3 separate regions of the Homo sapiens genome follow, and regions 1 and 3 are each linked to region 2. Evidence: promoter capture Hi-C in human tissues and cell types (Jung and others, 2019). All regions are on one chromosome and are shown on one strand. Each heading gives the region's core, a stretch centred on a gene start or on the middle of the fragment in contact. The rest is flanking DNA. Distances are from core to core; before and after follow the strand shown. Region 1 overlaps PPP2R3A (protein phosphatase 2 regulatory subunit B''alpha). Region 2 holds the start of STAG1 (STAG1 cohesin complex component). Region 3 has its middle 60 kb from the start of PPP2R3A.

The links. Contacts are between HindIII fragments. The study calls those that stand out against the background at their distance.
Region 1: a fragment that was not itself captured here is called in contact with the fragment with the promoter of STAG1 in region 2 in 1 of the 25 tissues and cell types used here (thymus).
Region 3: a fragment that was not itself captured here is called in contact with the fragment with the promoter of STAG1 in region 2 in 1 of the 25 tissues and cell types used here (H1 embryonic stem cells).

What each region holds. Positions count from the first base shown.
Region 1 is chr3:136,030,911-136,034,752 of GRCh38, forward strand. All of the region lies in intron 3 of PPP2R3A (protein phosphatase 2 regulatory subunit B''alpha), which reads left to right. Among named protein-coding and RNA genes, the nearest start is that of PPP2R3A, 67 kb to the left of the region's middle. The HindIII fragment of the contact is 7,936 bases long and covers 1-3,842 here.
Region 2 is chr3:136,750,386-136,754,247 of GRCh38, forward strand. STAG1 (STAG1 cohesin complex component) reads right to left here and starts at 1,993. Exons shown (of 34, transcript NM_005862.3): 1 at 1,810-1,993. STAG1-DT (STAG1 divergent transcript) reads left to right here and starts at 2,286. Exons shown (of 1, transcript NR_185911.1): 1 at 2,286-3,862. RefSeq lists silencers at 1,317-1,696, 2,017-2,246 and enhancers at 1,438-2,369, 2,257-2,576, 2,370-3,301. The HindIII fragment of the contact is 8,035 bases long and covers 1-3,862 here.
Region 3 is chr3:135,903,853-135,907,466 of GRCh38, forward strand. No RefSeq gene overlaps it. Among named protein-coding and RNA genes, the nearest start is that of PPP2R3A, 60 kb to the right of the region's middle. The HindIII fragment of the contact is 3,623 bases long and covers 1-3,348 here.

The DNA of each region.
Region 1 (3,842 bases), core at 616-3,115, 720 kb before region 2:
AATTGTGCTGCTATAAACATGCATGTACAAGTATCTTTTTTTACAGTGACTTCTTTTCCTCTGAGTAGATACCCAGTAGTGGGATTGCTGGATAAAATGGTAGTTCTACTTTTAGTTCTTTAAAGAATCTCCACACTGTTTTCCATAGTGGTTATACTAGTTTACATTCCCACCAGCAGTGTAGAAATGTTCCCTGTTCACTGCAGCCATGCCAACATCTACTGTTTTATTTTGTTTTGTTTTTTCAGGGGTAAGGTGGTATCACATTGTGGTTTTGCAGGGGTTAAGGTTCTTCTTGGAGGGGTAAGGTGGTATCGCATTGTGGTTTTGATTTGCATTTCCCTGATCATTAGTGACATTGAACATTTTTTATATGTTTATTGGCCATTTGTATATCTTCTTTTGAGAATTGCCTATTCATGTCATTAGCCCACTTTTTGATGGGATTATTTTTTTCTTGTTGATATGAGTTCATTGTAGATTCTGGATATTAGTCCTTTGTCAGATGTATAGATCTTGAAGACTTTTTCCCACTCTGTGGGTTGTCTGTTTACTTGCTGACTGTTCCTTTCACCATGCAAAACCTCTTTATTTTAATTAAGTCCTAGCAATTTATCTTTGTTTTTGTTACATTTGCTTTTGGGTTCTTGGTCATGAAATCTTTGCCTAAGCCAATGTCTAGAAGGGTTTTCCCATTGTTATCTTCTAGAATTTTTATAGTTTCAGGTCTTAGATTTAAGTCCTTAGTCCATCTTGAGTTGATTTTTGTAAAAGGTGACAGACGAGGATCAGTTTCATTCTCCTACATGTGACTAGCCAATTATCCCAGCACCATTTGTTTGAAAAGAGTATGCTTTCCCTGCTTTATGTTTTTGTTTACCTTGTCAAAGATCAGTTGGCTGTAAGTATTGGGCTTTATCTCTGTGTTCTCTATTCTGTTCCACTGGTCTATGTGCCTATTTTTATAACAGTACCATGCTGTTTTGGTGACTATGGCCTTATAGTATAGTTTGAAATCAGGTAATGTGACACCTCTAGATTTATTCTTTTTGCTTAGTCTTGCGTTGGCCATGCGGGCTCTTTTTTGGTTCTATATGAATTTTAGAATTGTTTTTTCTAATTCTGTGAAAAATGTTGATGGTATTTTTATAGGAATTGTGGTGGGAATTGCATTGAGTCTGTAGATTGCTTTTGGCAGAATGGTCATTTTCACAATATTGATTCTACCCATCCATGAGCATGGGATGTGTTTCCATTTGTTTGTGTCATCTGTGATTTCTTTCAGCAGTGGTTTGTGGTTTTACTTGTAGAGGTCTTTCACCTCCTTGGTTAGGTATATTGCTAAGTATGTTTTTTGTTTGTTTGTTTGTTTTTTGCAGCTGTTGTAAAAGGGGTCGAGTTCTTGATTTGATACTCAGCTTGCTCGTTGTTGGTGTATAGAAGAGCTACTGATTCGTGTACATTAATTTTGTCTTCGAAAACTTTGCTGAATTATTTTATCAGTTCCAGGAGTTTTCTGGAGGAGTTTTTAGGATCTTCTGGGTAAACGATCATATCATCAGCAAACAGCGAGAATTTGACTTTCTCTTTTTTTTTTTAATTAATTAATTTATTTATTTATTTTTTTTTTTTCCTGAGACGGAGTCTCGCTCTGTCGCCCAGGCTGGAGTGCAGTGGCTCAATCTCAGCTCACTGCAGACTGCAAGCTCTGCCTCCCGGGTTGACACCATTCTCCTGCCTCAGCCTCCCAAGTAGCTGGGACTACAGGCACCCACCACCATGCCCAGCTAATTTTTTGTGTTTTTAGTAGAGACGGGGTTTCACCATGTTAGCCAGGATGGTCTCGATCTCCTGACCTCGTGATCTGCCCGCCTCGGCCTTCCAAAGTGCTGGGATTATAGGCGTGAGCCACCACACCCGGCCGACTTCCTCTTTATTGATTTGGGTGCCCTTTATTTCTTTCTCTTGTTTGATTGCTCTGACTAGGACTTCCAGTACTATGTTGAAGAAGAGTAGTAAGAGTGGGCATCCTTGTCTTGTTCCAGTTCTCAGAGGGAATGCTTTCCACTTTTCCCAATTCAGTATTATGTTGGCTGTGGGCTTGTCATAGATGGCTTTTATTACATTGAGGTATGTCCCTTGTATGCCAATTTTGCTGAGAGTTTTCATCATAAAGGGATGCTGGATTTTATCAAATGCTTTTTCTCCATTTATTGAGATGATCATGTGATTTTGGTTTTTAATTCTGTTTTTGTGGTGTATCACATCTATTGACTTGCATATGTTAAACCATCCCTGCATCCCTGATATGAAACCCACTTAATCATGGTGGATTATCTGTTTGATATGTTGTTAGATTCAGTTAGCTAGTATTTTGTTAAGGATTTTAGCATCTGTGTTCATCAGGGATATTGGTCTGTAGGTTTTTGTTTGTTTGGTTGGTTATGTCCTCCTTTCCTGGTTTTGGTATTAGGGTGATGCCGGCTTCATAGAATGAATTAGGGAGGGTTCCCTGTTTCTCTGTCTTGTGGAATAGTGTCAATAGGATTGGTACCAATTCTTCTTTGAATGTCTGGTAGAATTCGGCTGTGAATCCGTCTGTCCTTGACTTTTTTTGTTGGTAATTTTTAAACTACCATTTCAATATCACTGCTTGTTGCTGGTCTGTTCAGGGTATCTAATTCTTCCTGATTTAAGCTAGAAGGGTTGTATCTTTCCAGGAATTTATTCATCTCTTCTAGGTTTTCTAGTTTATGTGTGTAAAGGTGTTCATAGTAACCTTGAATGATCTTCTGTATTTCTGTGGTGTCAGTTGTAATATCTCCTGTTTTGTTTCTTATTGAGCTTATTTGGATTTTCTCTCTTCTTTTCTTAGTTAGTCTTGCTAATGGTCTATCAATTTTATTTATCTTTTCAAAGAACTAGCTTTTTGTTTCATTTATTTTTTGTATTTTTTTTCTTTTGTATTATTTTTTTCAATTTCATTTAGTTCTGCTCTGATCCTGGTCATTTCCTTTCTCCTGCTGGGTTTGGGTTTGGTTTGTTCCATTCTTGTTTCTCTAATTCCTTGAGGTGTGACCTTAGATTGTCTGTTTGTGCTCTTTCAGACTTTTTTTCTTTTTCTTTTTCTTTTTTTTTTTTTTTGAGACAGAATCTCTCTCTGTTGCCAGGCCGGAGTGCAGTGGCGTGATCTTGGCTCACTGCAGCCAGCACCTCCTGGGTTCAAGTGATTCTCCTGCCTCAGCCTCCTGAGTAGGTGTGACTACAGGTGCGCACTACTACACCCAGCTAATTTTTGTATTTTTTAGTAGAGACAGGGTTTCACCATGTTTGCCAGGATGGTCTCGACCTCTTGACCTCATGAACCACCGACCTCGGCCTCCCAAAGTGCTGGGATGATGGGCGTGAGCCACTGCGCCCAGCCCAGACTTTTTGATGTAGGCGTTTAGGGCTATGAACTTTTCTCTTAGCATTGCCTTTGCTGTGTCCCAGAGGGTTTGATAGGTTGTGTCACTATTGTCATTCAGTTTGAAGAATGTTTTAATTTCCATCTTGATTTCATTTTTGACCCAGTGATCATTCAGGAGCAGGTTATTTAATTTCCATGTATTTGCATGGTTTTGAGGGTTCCTTTTGGAGTTGATTTCAGGTTTTATTCCACTGTAGTCTGAGAGAGTGCTTGATATAATTTCAACTTTCTTAAATGTATTGAGGCTCGTTTTGTGGCCTCTTCTATGGTCTATCTTGGAGAAAGTTCCATGTGCTGTTGAATAGAATGCATATTCTGCAGTTGTTAGATGGAATGTTCTGTATATGTCTATTAAGTCCATTTGTTCCAGGGT
Region 2 (3,862 bases), core at 743-3,242:
AAAGTAACTTCGGTCCAGGACCCACTCCTTCTCCCCTACACCATAGTGCCTTTAAGGCTTTAAAAGAGCCAATCAAATCTACAGTCATTTTATTAGTCTCTTCAAAGGAGGCAATCCTAGTAACACAACAAACTTCCATATTTTGCATCTATTTAAATATTCCTTAGCCTTATCAGAACATCGAAACTGAAGTGGATACAGAAAAATTTCCACTCAAAAGCAGTTCGTTTGTGAAAATGACCACTGGTAGATCACTTGAATTAATTTAGTTTACTCGAAGTACGTTTTAAATATGTAAAGGAAAATGCGTGGCAAAACACCTGTAGATCTTCTACAACTTTATTTGGGTAACAATTTGTCTTATAAGTATTCTTAATCATCAAAAGCAAGGAAATAACATTTCTGCTTCTTTCCATTCCATATTTCCCTACTTGGTTAAAATTTTTCAGTCTGAATTCCTCATACATTATGAATATTAGAACAAGGTACGTTACATTACCATACAATAAACAAGTTATTTTTATTTTCACTCTTCTGTATATTTCCCTAAGTGCTTCACCATCGGAATGTGCAATTTTCTTAAAACACGAGGAAAACTAAAATGTAGAGTCATTCAAATTCCAGATAAGTTACAAATCACACAACTTTGTGCCAATTCAGATACTTTCTCAAGTAAACACTATTTTTGCGAAGATGCAAGTCTTTCTAGTCAGAATCACGAGAATAAACTCTATCCATCTTAACACCAACTTTAACAGCAAATAATTTTTTTTTATGACAAATTGCGTTTTTTTTTTTTGTTTTTTTTTTGTCTGTAAGTGTCCAAAACTATCCTATGACTTATACTCCCGGAGCACGATTCCCTGCAATGTGAAGAGAATCGACAGATAACATTTCAAATGTGGGTAGATGGGGGTGACGTGACAATCCTAAAACCTGAAAATTTCTTAGTACCCATACCATACAAGAAGAACCCAGTTCGGACCCTGCAAACGGGGCTCAGGTCCAACTCCAAGCACTCTAGTTTCCCACCCCGCCCCCACCTCGAGAAAGGAGGGAAAACAACTTTTATTGGCCTCGTCTCTCAGGGGACTGGCAAACTAGCGGGGCAGTGCTTAGGCCTGGACACGTTTCACAAGGAGGCCCCCGTCGGGGGCTGAGAGGGCAGATAGCTGGAAAGCCCAGCATTGATGCATCTCCCCCAGCCGCCACCCCGCTGCCCCACCCCGCCAACAAGAAGCCTGGGCCAGCCGCCCCGCCGAGCGACCCCCCAGGCCCCTCCGCTGAAATGAACTCGTTGTCATGTGACGCCGCCGCCGCTAAAACACCGCAGAAACGCAGGTCGGCAGGCGGCGGAAGGCATTCGCGCCAGCCCGCGTCGGCCCGGCCCCGCTGGGCGCGGGCGACTCCCGAGAGCCCGGGCGGGGGGGGGCGGAGGGCGGGCTTGGCGGCGGGCCCGAGCGCGCCACAAAGGCTTCCGCGCCTGTCGCCGTAGTGCCCGGGCGGGCGGGGGCAAAATTTTTGGTGCCCGCGGGAGGGGTGGCAAGCGACGAAGACGCCGGGGTGCCCACCGCGCCCACAGACGTCTCTCCGGGCACTCGGACGGCCCACGACCGCCGCACCCCGCACAGGCCCGCGCGGCCTCCCTCCCCCGCACGGGGCCCGCGCCCGGCCCGCCCGCTCGCCGCTCGCGCTCTCTCGCTCTCGCCCGGCCTCCATCTTGGATCGGCGCTTCCAGCCCCCGCGCCGCTGCCGCCGCATTCCCCCTCTTTCCCGCCCCCCGCCGCCGTCGCCGCCGCCCGCACTCACCTCAGCTGCCCATCCGGGCGCCGCCGACCATCGACCTAGTTTCCCCCCAAAAGTCTCCGGTGTGTTATTCCCGATGTGGGGGGGTTGTTACGGGGTGGTCGCCGGGGGTTCGGGAGCGGGGGCCGCGCCTTCAACGGAGCTGCAATCCTAACCCGCCATCTGGTGGCATTTTCCACACGCCAATGGCGCCGCTGCAGACTTGGGTCCGGACCGCCCTCTGCTGGCCGCGGTGCTCACTGCCTTGCTGACGGGACGGGCCTGCCCGGAAAGGGGAGGGAGCTGAGGCGCGAGCTAGGGGCCGCGGCAGGGGCGCGCGCAAACGCTTTCCAGTGGGGATTGCGCGCACGCGCACCAGCGGGGCGGGAAACGTGGCCGCTGCGTGGCGGCCCCGCCCCCACACGGAGCGCTCGCGCAGTTCAGCCAATCGCGAGAGGCGTAGGCTTCTGGATAAGGGCGCTGTGGACGGTTCTTGGGCCGCCCGCGGCTGGCGGAAGGACGGCCACGGTGGCGCCTGCGCGTCCGGCTCGCCGAGTTGCCGCCCGCCATTTTTGGAGCTTCTTGGAGATCTAGGCAGGAACCCGCCCCGGGTTCCTTCACCGAGGCTCCTCCCTAGGTCTCAGGGCCGGCGCTTTCCTCTGTTCCCGCCCGGCTCCTGCTGCCCCCATCCGCAGCTCTCGAGACGCCCTGCGGAAACCCGAGGGTGAGGCCGCGCAGATCCCTGCTCCTACTTGGATTTAGCAAGGGCCTCAGAGCTTAGCATTGTATTCGCGATTTACGGCTGACAAGCGCTTTCACCAGGCAAGAGTGAAAAGGTTTCAAAAGGACTATTGGGGACTTCCCTCGCCATTAATCTAGACGAAACACCGCCGGCCCTAGGCCGATTGGCGTCATCCTGCCTCTGTAAAGCACATCTTTCCGTGGTGTCGGCTTTGCATAAGGCGGCAGCATTGGCTAGTTTGTGAGAGGAGAATATAACTAGACTGAGAAGATAGACTCAGCTGTGAAAGTGGATTTCTCCCTCCACAACCTAGGACTACTTTCAGTAGCTCTGAAATACACATGAGAATCTTAGCCTTCTAGATGCCAAAAGAGAAATAATCAGTAAGGTGAAATCATTAACAAACTATTTATGTTTAACGTCGCCTCTTCCCTGATCTCCACCTGCCCGTCCGTGGCCATGGATCCCTACCTTTCACCTGCTTACAACTTTTCACCACAAAAGTGAATCCTTACTCTCCTGGATCATTAGCCCCATATATGACTAACTTCTCTATCGCTATAGCCAACTCTATTTCAGTATGGAATCGCTCAACTACTTTATAGTCTTAAGGGCCTGTCTCCAGTAGGTTACCCCTATTTGTGTTTTCTCTCTCAAGGGTTTGCAAGATGTGTGGCTTTTCGCTGGAGGAAGTCATAACTGACCAGATTGGATATGAATTCGTGACTGGACTCCTACTTATAATTTTCTTGCGTTTTCTTCTAATCTCTGGCTGATCTCCTATTTTCCACAAAGACTGTTTCAAGCTTTCCATGTTGTTAAAGATGCCAGTCCCAGTCCATACTAATAGATAAATTCATCCAGTTTCCTGGGCTCAGAGCTATGGGACTCCAATTCCGGTTTGACCTTGCCTCCATTATAAAATATCTGTGACCACCTCCTGTTCGTGATCCCAAAACTTCTAACCAAATTAACCCAGAACCCTTCTCTCCAAAGCCACTCCCTCTGCCTGAAACTATGCCATCCCTTCCCACCTTCTCCTTCCACCACTACTTTCCTAGCGCCTTATAATGTAAATATGTTCTTATCCACTGTCTTCTTCCTTTCTGTTTCTCAGAAGTTTCTGTTGTCTTGGCTGGGTGCGGTGGCTCACACCTGTAATACCAGCACGTTGTGAGGCAGAGGCGGGCAGATAACATGAGGTCAGGAGTTCGAGACTACCCTGGCCAACATGGTGAAACCCTGTCTCTACTAAAAATACAAACAGCCAGGCGTGCTGGTGTGCGCCTGTAATGCCAGCTACTCGGGAGGCTGAGGCAGGAGAATCTCTCGAAC
Region 3 (3,614 bases), core at 287-2,786, 850 kb before region 2:
CCACTCTCTTCATTTCTATGACTTCCTCCTTTTTCCCAGCCTCCCTCTTTTCCTTCCATTATTCTCCTCTTCCATTTTTCCCCCCTTGTCTTAGTCAATCGTATTGCTATAAAGGAATACCTGAGCTGGATAATTTATAAAGAAAAGAGTTTCATCTGGCTCACAGTTCTGCAGGTTGTACAAGAAGCATGGTACCAGCTCTTGCATCTGGTGAGGGCCTCAGGCTGCTTCCACTCATGGCAGAAGGTGAAGGGGAACTGGCCTGTGCAGATCACATGGCAAGAGAGGAAGCAAGAGAGAGAGAGGGAAGGTGCCAGTTTCTTTTTAACAACCAGCTATCTTAGGGAAAATATACAACAAGAACTCATTCACTTTCCACCAGGGAGGGCATTAATCTACTCATGAGGGCTCCCCACCATGACCCAAACATTAGCCGCACCTCCCACATTGGGGATCAAATGTCAGCATGAGGTTTGGAGGAATCAAATATCCAAACCATAGCACCCACTTTCATATTTTTCCCATGGGGGAGAAAGCCCGCAACATTAGCTGACATGTAGTGAAAAGAGAATCAAACTTGGAGTAGAACTCCTTAGATTGAAATGTCAACTCTCTAGGCTTCATTTCTTTGTTTATAAGATGACTATAAGAATGTTTTTTCTCAGAATTCATAAATACTTACTTAATAGCTACAGTGCATTGAGCACTGCACTAGGCATCGGGGATACATCAGCGACCGGTAATACAGATGGTCCCAAACTTATGATGGTTCCATTTAAGATTTTTTGACTTTAGAATGGTTTATTAGGATAGTCCCATCATAAGTAGAGGAGCGTCTGTAATTATATGCCAACAACTGTGAGAGGTGCTAAGGAAGATCATACACAGTGCGATAACAGCATATAGCACGAGGGTCTGTCCTTCCAAGAGAGGGCTTAGAACTACCACAGTAAAATAAACTGAAGTGTATGACAGAACTTTGTAAACTGTAATATAATATAGAAATGTAAAGTATCGTAATTTATATTCTGATCTATTTCTCCTCTCTCTCTTTTCCTCATTTCTTTACCTTTCCTTCTTTCATTTTTTGGAACCCCAGGGTCAACTCTAGATTCTCAAACAAGGATTCATAATTACAAGATAATTATATAATCAGAAAAACTCCCAGTAAATATTCAGGGGGAATGGGATGGAATGTAGGGTATGGAAATAGAGATGAACCTTCAAGGATTCTTTAAATAAAGTTAACCTTTATTCTTTAAATAAAGTTAGCATCTATTGAGTATCCATGTCTGCCAAATGCAGTGTTAGGCACTGAAGGTACAATGAAGCTTGCATCTGGAAACAGCTGAGCACACGGTACAGTGTGTAAGTGCTTTGACTGGCGGAGAAGGAAGAGGGCGTGCAGAGCACAGAGGAGGCTTCAAAACCAGCCTGCAGTGTCAGAAGCAGCTTTACAGAGGGCACAAGGTCCAAGCTGACTCCAGAGAATAAGTAGGTAGGAGTTACCCAGTTGGTCAAACTGAGGGAAATCCATATCACCTCAAAGCAGCAACATAAAAATAGCCATGGAGCAGTAAGGACTTTAGAGGAATACAAGGAGAGCATTTCAAATAGTCTAAGGACGAGAGCTTCCTCTCTCTCCTAGAAAAGCCACAGAGGAAGAACACAAGATGGCAGTGGTGTTATGGGATTGCATGAAGCAGGGAGGCCTTGATGCATCAGACAAAAACTACAACTCACAATAGAAGTTTGCAAGAAATGGGTACTCCCTTGTCCACGGGGGGCTTGTGAAATAGAGGACAAAGCAGCAATATGTATCAAAAGCCTAAAAAATGTTCCTGGTCCTTGGCCTAGTAATTCAGTCTCTAGAAATGTAGCCTAGGTAAAGATTTTCATACAAGGATGTCTAAAATGGCATTATTTTCCAATGGTAAGGGGCTGGAAACAAGTCAAAGTCTAACACTGAAGTCATAGCTAAATGAACTATGGTACAGTAAAATAGCAGATGGCCAATTGCAATCATGCTCTTGAATAGCATTTAATGATGAAGAAAATACTTGTAATATTAAGTACAAAAAATAGGATCTGAAACTACATAGACAGTATAGTTCATATTTTATTTAAAACTTATCTATAGATGTATGTACATGTGTATGTGTATGTAAAGAAAAAAGACTGGAAGGAAAAATAAAATGTTGGCAGTGGTGGAATTACATGCAGTTTTTATGTTATTCTTTAAGCTTTTTCTAATTTCCAAATTTATAATATTCTAGCCTGAATTTATAATAAACATTATAGAAGAAAATATTAACAGTCTGTCTCTAAGAAATTAGATGAAAGTTGATTTGTTAAATTCTTTATGCTTTCCAAAATATTTTCCCAAATTTCATGCTATTGCTCTTTCTTCTTTTTTTCTTTTTTTTTTTTTTTAGAGACAGGGTCTCACTCTATTGCCCAGGCTGGAGTACAGTGGGGCGATCTCAGCTCACTGCAGCCTCCACCTCCTGGGCTCAAGCAACCCTCCCACCTCAGCCTCTGGAGTAGCTGGGACCACAGGCAAGTACCACCACGCCTGGCTAATTTTTTGTATTTTTGTTAGAGTAGGGTTTCACTGTGTTACCCAGGCTGGCTATTGCTTTTTAAAAGAAACCAATGAAGAAACTTTTTTACTAGGAACCCAGAATGCTTAGAGAACAAGCTGCTATTTTAGGGATTAGTGATTAAGACACCTGCTGGGGACAGATGTCAGCTTAGCAGAGAATGATATGGGGGCTCCCTCCATGTCCCCAGAACAAGAGAACCTCCTATTGCCTTTCTACCTTTTCTGCTCCATGCATATACATTTGAGAATGAGAACTAGCCAAGGCTTTTGACCTTGATCTTTAACCTGAAGTTTTAACTCTGTTATGCCATTTCTCTGTAACCTAACATTAAGAGGTTTTACAAGTGGGTGGGCAAAGCCAGCCCATTAAGCTTGGAAGACACTTCCTAGAGAGCTGGGAGAGGATACTTCACATGAAGGAGAACTTTCCAAAATAAGTACTCAAATCCTTTTGTAAAAGTATCTCCTCACCATTCATTTTTTTACACCAAATTAATTAACAATTTTTCAGCAAGCACAACCCTGACAGGTAGGTATTTGGAGCCTAGGTCACTTCCCCTGTCTTTCCTTCTCCTTGGTGTATTTGTTGTGCTGTATGGAGCTTGAAAGGCATTCCCTTGTTAGAAGAGACAGAAGTGGCCAGGAGTGGTGGCTCATGTCTGTAATCCCAGCACTTTGGGAGGCTGAGGCAGGTGGATCACTTGAGGTCAGGAGTTTGAGACCAGCCTGGCCAACATGGTGAAACCCCGTCTCTACAAGAATATAATAATTAGCTGGGTGTGGTGGCACATGCCTGTACTCGGGAGCTACCGTACTCGGGCGCCTGTACTCAGGCCAGCTACTCCCTCGGGGGACTGAGTGAGGAGAATCACTTGAACCCAAGAGGTGGAGGTTGCAGAAACTCGAGATGGTGCCACTGCACTCTCTAGGCGAGAGAAAAAAGAAGAGACAGAAGTAACACCAGGAGAGTGTAATTCTCTGTTGGTCTTTATCATTTGCAAATATTGCA